Linked DNA regions of Homo sapiens: region 2 is linked to region 1. The links are contacts of gene promoters, found by promoter capture Hi-C in blood cells and fetal thymus (Javierre and others, 2016). All regions are on one chromosome and are shown on one strand. The core of a region is centred on a gene start or on the middle of the fragment in contact, and the rest is flanking DNA. Distances in the headings are between cores, read along the strand shown.

Region 1 (2,985 bases), core at 386-2,885:
ATGATCCAATACTAGAATCAGGTAGACGTGGTTTTGATGCTTGCTTCTGTCAGTTATATTTTCTCAGTTCTAAGTAGCCATCAATTTGTAAGATGTTCCATTTTAAATGCACCAATCAACTATAAAATACATACTGAATTTCAAAAGTATTAGAATGAAAAAAAAATGTCTCTTAGAAATGGGATATGAACTGTGAGCCTGAGCAGATTACTTAACCTTTCTAAGTCTCGGTTTTCTCATCTGTAAAATGGGGATGATAGTAGCCGCTGCCTCATAGTTTTCTGTGAAAATTAATTAATACATTGCAGGTAAAGCAGAAAACACCATGCTTAGGGAATTGAAAGCACTCAATATTTGCATTTTTAAAAACTATGTCTTTAGTCAAGCATAACTCTTTTAAAATGCCATTAACTATAGGAGGAAGAATCAGTGTTGTAACATTTTGCTATTCCTTGAGTACAATCTATGTGTACTAAGAAAAGACATCATTGGTAACACAACTACCAAGCTTATCTAGGGATCAGCTATCTCAAGATAGGCATAGCAATTGCTGGATGCCATATGATTTCCATGTATTTTATTTCTCCAATAGCACTCACATTCTTTGGGAGCTGTATTCTAATACTTTCAGAAAAGCCATGGGAACACACCAGAGTGACTGCTCGAGTAAATAAGTAGCATAAACAGCAAGCCAAACCATTGATGTACACATCACTGGGCCCAATACTATGAAATCCCACATAAGAAACTTGAAAGTGAAAGCTGGAATTCTGAGGATACTGGTTTTGCTTAATAAACAGCATTTCAACAGGTGAGTCAACTTAGTATTGCAGAGCGTGGTGTTGGCTTTTTTCTGATTGGGGCTAGTTTTTCATTAAAGGCAATATCTAGCACTGAAATAGACAACAGTACCTAGTCCCAACCACCTGCTTCCTGGTGAGTCAGTTCAAGTTCTCACAATTGTGTCTGTGTCCAGCCCCAGACCAGCTGAGCTGGGTCATGTGCTCACCCAGATCTTTCCCTAAAAGAGGACTGACAGGGAAACCACTGCCCTCTTTCACATCCAGGGAAGGAGTGACTTCTAAGAGAAATAGGGTTTTGTTTCCTCGCCAAAGTGTCAGGAATGATCAAATGTGAAAAACAGAGGGCAAATCCGTGTTAGTGCGTCATTAGGTGGGTGTTTCTAAAGTGATCACATGGTAACACTTCCTCTGCTCGCTGACCCACCAGGAGTGTTTTGGAAACAGTCAGCCCACGTGAAATGGGCTGAAGACATCCCAGTGTCCTCCTCTCAGAAGCTGTGAGCCCCAGTCAGGGCGGGCTGTCTTAGCCTGTAAACGTCCACAGGGCCAGAGCCTATATTTAACTGATGACACATCTTACAAGGGGGAAGGGAAGGGGAATCTGTGACCCTGTTTCCTCCCACCAACACCAGCCCATTCACACAGAGTCTTTTGAAGGTCTCACTGGCAGTACTCCTTCAAACTTACCCAATATGCCCCACTCAAAGGCCCTCCCAGGCTTGTGGGAACAGAAAGATTTCTTGAAATGGAAAGGAGGGTTGTGAATGAGTGAGGAAATTCAGCATGGAGATATGAGAGGCTCACTCTTTAGCCACACGGAACCGGGGACTCCAAGGCAACCCCATTCCCAGAGTTCTTTCGAGGGTGGGGCTAATGACATGGGACCAAGAATTGACTCCAGGAAAGGGCATGGTGATGTGTGGCCTCCCAGACAGCCTCAGAGCAAGCAGGTGGATTTGACTTAGGCTGTGGGGAAGGCAACAGCCTCTGTATATTTTTCCATCTTGATGCTGAGTCAGACAAGGCAGTTAGTGGTTCTTTCCAGAATCCCTGCCAGCCTTTTAAAGAAAAAGTCTTTGCAGATTTTGCTTTAGTCCATCTCTGCCAAGGGGTCATTTTCTATGTTGTACTTCCTCCCTATGTGAGGGCAAGGATAATGTAGCCTTGTGTAGACTGTATATACGCTTCAGTTCCTAGCTAAGCCACATTGAGACCTCAGTAAAACAGGTTTGATTGCAATCAGAAAAGAGTTGATTTGAGATTTAAAGGAAATGACATGGATACAGTGCTCACCAGAAAGTATTAAAATGGTATTTGTTGCTTATTATTGGTAGTTATTGTCATGATATTGCTACTGATGCTGAACAAAGACCCAAGAACCAGGGTGATGTTTAGCATGGGCTGGCCTCAGCAGGACTGAAAGGACATCAATAAGGGAGAACAGAGAGAAGGAAGGAGGACAAGTGCCAACTTTGAGCAGGTATCAGGTGTATGTGGGGGCAAACCATTTCTCCGTCCACCCTGATGATGAGTCCCCGTTTCCCTTTTTAAGGCCTGATTTTTGCACCCTCACCCCACCTAAGGCAGCCAGGGGCCCACACTGCAATACTCCTAGGTAACATCCATACTTTTTTTTTTTTTTTGAGATAGAGTCTCCCACTGTCACCCAGGTTGGAGTGCAATGGCGAGATCTCGGCTCACTGCAACCTCCGCCTCTCAGGTTCACGTGATTCTCCTGCCTCAGCCTCCAGAGTAGCTGGGATTACAGGCGCACACCACCATACCCGGCTAATTTTTTGTATTTTTGGTAGAGACAGGGTTTCACTATGTTGGCCAGACTGGCGTCGAACTCCTGACCTCGTGATCTGCCCGCCTCGGCCTCCCAAAGTGCTGGGATTACAGGCGTGAGCCACTGTGCCTGGCCAACATCCATACTCTTGATCTGTTCCTCCACCCACAGCACTGCTTATCTGGCCAGGCTCTCGTTCCTTCATTACACAGCTTTCTGCTGGGAAGCAGATAACTAATATAAAGATGATACTAACGATTAATGGAGGCTTCATGGAGTCTCCCAGAAATATCACGTTTGTGGTTAATATTCCAAAGGCTACTGGTAGGGATTTCTCAATCTAACATGAGTCTGAAAAAGAGATGATTTTCATCAGAGCTATTCTCGGGACTC
Region 2 (3,002 bases), core at 392-2,891, 540 kb after region 1:
CAGAAGTATTCAGTTGCTAGAAACTCATTTGCCTATAGTTCTCTTTATAGCAAATTACTTGCATATAATCTTTTCTCTTTGAAGCCATGTTAACTACTATTAGAGCACTAGGTAAGACTAAAATTTTTCCTTAACAAGTAGGGTATTTCATTTCCCACTTGCTAACAAATGAAAAATACAGTATTTTTGGCCCTACGCTAGTACTTTAACAGTAATCCTGACAGGCATTCTAGTCTCTGGTCACAGTGAATTTCTTATTCTCCTGCAGATCTACCAAGTCCAAAGCAGTTTCCTTGCCACTGCACAGCCTGTTCCCTCTGCTTGGAACGCCCTACTCCATTTCCTACCTTGCAAACGCCTTCAAGTGCCAGCTTAAATGTCACTATGAAGTCTTTCCTGACTCCTCTAAAACGTTGAGTCAAGAAAAATATTGAAATATTGTTTACTCAGATATTTTATTATCCTATTTCTGAAAAGCTTTACCACCCTCAACCTAACTTCTGCTTTTCTTAAGATCTCTGGACAGCTTCCACATCTTCTTACTGACTCAGGGAAAATGAGCTGACTCAACAAAAAGGTGATGAGATTCTAGAAAGAGCTGGCTGGCTGGCTGGCTGGCTGGCCGGCCGGCTGCAAACCAGCCAGCAAGAAGTTTGCAATCTGTTAGCCTTTACGGGGTTAGTTCTCCTGCTCCCTTTAAAGGAGACTAAAAGAAGGAAAGTGGATGAGAAAGAAAAAAGTTTCTGAATTCTTTTACTGACATTGCTTCCAGTGAATTTGCCTTGTCACGTTCGTATTATTAATGATAGTCCTAAGGTATGTTATTCTTTGAAGTTTATGAAGTTGTTTATTTTCATCAGGGTAATTACTTGTGCTGCTTACCAAATGTTTCCAGCCCTCCCCCGTCGAGGCACATGATAGGATCTGACCTCCATGGCCTGGGCTAAGGCCATGTGCTGGTAGCTCTGGCCAATGAGTTGTAAGCAGAAGTGACACATGTCATTTCAGGCTGAAATTATCCAACAGTCTGTGCAATGCCAACAGAACTCTCTTTCCCTTTGCCATGGCAAATAGCCACTTTCAAGATGATTGATCACCTTAGGTCCTGGAGTGAGAAGATACGGCATGGAACCCTAGCCACCTTTTGTTGGACCCATAGCATAAGTGAGAAATAAACTTTTCTCCCAATATTTTATCGTGAAAAATGTTGAAATGTATAGAAAAGTTGAAAGACTTGCATAACACACATTCCCATATCTATCACCTGAATTTCACAGTTAACATTTTGGTATATTTGCTTTATCCCTTATCTGTCCTTTATGTTGTATCAATCTGCTTTTTTGGGGTGGAGAGATGAACAAGAAACTATTCTATAAACCATCACTAAGATTCTGGGGTTGTTCATTACTTCAGCATAACCTTGCCTTTCCTGATCCACATCTGGGGAATCCAGACCACCTACTCTCCTTTTCTGCTGAAGACAGTAAAGTAAAACTTCTCCAAAAAGAAAAAAGTAATGGTCTGAAGTTGGTTCTAAGAAATCATTTCCTGCCAGAGAAAGTTAGAAGTCACAATATGGATTAGGAGAAGGATTAAACCATCTTTTTTTCCTTCCATGGTCTTAAAAAATAAGATAAATTATGACTGACCTAGTTTTGATAAGGCTGTATTTGGAGGTAGAGAGATGAATTAAATGAGGAAAGGAAAGACAAAATTAGCATTCATTGACTATCTTTTGTATGGCAGACATTTTATATATATGATCTCATTTAATTTTCAAAATCATCCTGAAGAGTACATATGATTTCCATTTTTAAAATGAGGCTATTAAGCTCAGAGAGGTTAGGCTACCTGCCCAAGGTCATATAGCTATTGTGAGCAGAGGAGACAGAATGAAAATCCAAATCAGTATGACTTCAACACGCTTACCCTCATCTAGAAGTTTATAGACCCTTGGCCTCTGACAGCCAAGGGTATTTCCTCCCTCTGAAATGACCATCCCAAGGGAGACCGTGGCCCAAGAGGTAACAATGGTGTTAGTGGCAACCTCCCTTCATGCTTGAAGCAGAATTTGAAATGTCCAAATTATTTGACAAAAATATTTTTTGAATGTTCAGAAAAGTTCAACAAGCCCACTAAACAAAGGAGCATTGTGAATTTCCCAAAACTGAAACAGCTGATTTTTCCTTTACCTTTATCAGATAGTCACTTTCTTTGACAAAACATATATTTTAAAATACTAATGTTTTTTCCAACTCAAAACCCAGTTGGAATCTTGATCTTTTCCCAGTTTATTTTTTATGCTTGTGTTTGGTGTGAAGTAGATCTATATAATGTGTATATGAGTGTGTGTGTGTGTGTGTGTGTGTGTGTTCGTAAGGTCCTTAATTTCCCCAAATCTAGATGGTTACACTTTGAAATGTAACTCATATGGCCACACTGAGAGTCTATTTTCAGAATTTTCATGGCTACAAGCTAATGATTTTGGATTCCTATTGTTAGTCGAAAAATAATGGGTATGGTAGACATAACTTTAAATCATCAGGCTTCCACTCAGAGAGTTTATTGTGGGCTAGATAGCTACTGCTTGACAGGGTAGGAGGGGATAGCTAACCAAATTTGCCTGAAAAGACAACGTAAGTACCTATATAGGTAATGGGAATTTGTCCTCACCCTATAGAAACAATCTAACCCTGAATGACAAGTTTCTTCAAATAATTGAACACAGACTATCTTTAACTTTTCTATAGCATTTCACCTTTCCCTGGAGATTTTTATAAGATTAAAGCCTTAAAATAAAGCTTGGATACACTCAAAAAGGTAGCAGGAGGGAGCTTTCTGGGGCGATGGAACTGTTCTGTATCCTGATAGCGGCAGTGGTTGAATGAATCTATACATGTATTAAAACCCATATGGCTGTACACACACGTGCACATGCACACACATGCACACATACCTCTGGTGGACATCTGCTGCCTAAAGGTTCTGCCTTTCTTTCTTTT

Evidence for each region. Contacts are between HindIII fragments. The CHiCAGO score rates a contact against its expected background, and 5 or more counts as called.
Region 2: a fragment that was not itself captured here is called in contact with the fragment with the promoter of LINC01888 in region 1 in 1 of 17 cell types (monocytes); the score reaches 7.9 in monocytes.

What each region holds. Positions count from the first base shown.
Region 1 is chr2:68,830,658-68,833,642 of GRCh38, reverse strand. LINC01888 (long intergenic non-protein coding RNA 1888) reads right to left here and starts at 1,635. Exons shown (of 2, transcript NR_183895.1): 1 at 1,491-1,635. It overlaps LINC01890 (long intergenic non-protein coding RNA 1890), which reads left to right. Exons shown (of 4, transcript NR_183884.1): 2 at 593-811; 3 at 2,138-2,283. The HindIII fragment of the contact is 9,437 bases long and covers 511-2,985 here.
Region 2 is chr2:68,285,689-68,288,690 of GRCh38, reverse strand. All of the region lies in intron 1 of PPP3R1-AS1 (PPP3R1 and CNRIP1 antisense RNA 1), which reads right to left. It also overlaps a transcript of CNRIP1 not described here. Among named protein-coding and RNA genes, the nearest start is that of CNRIP1, 33 kb to the left of the region's middle. The HindIII fragment of the contact is 2,324 bases long and covers 480-2,803 here.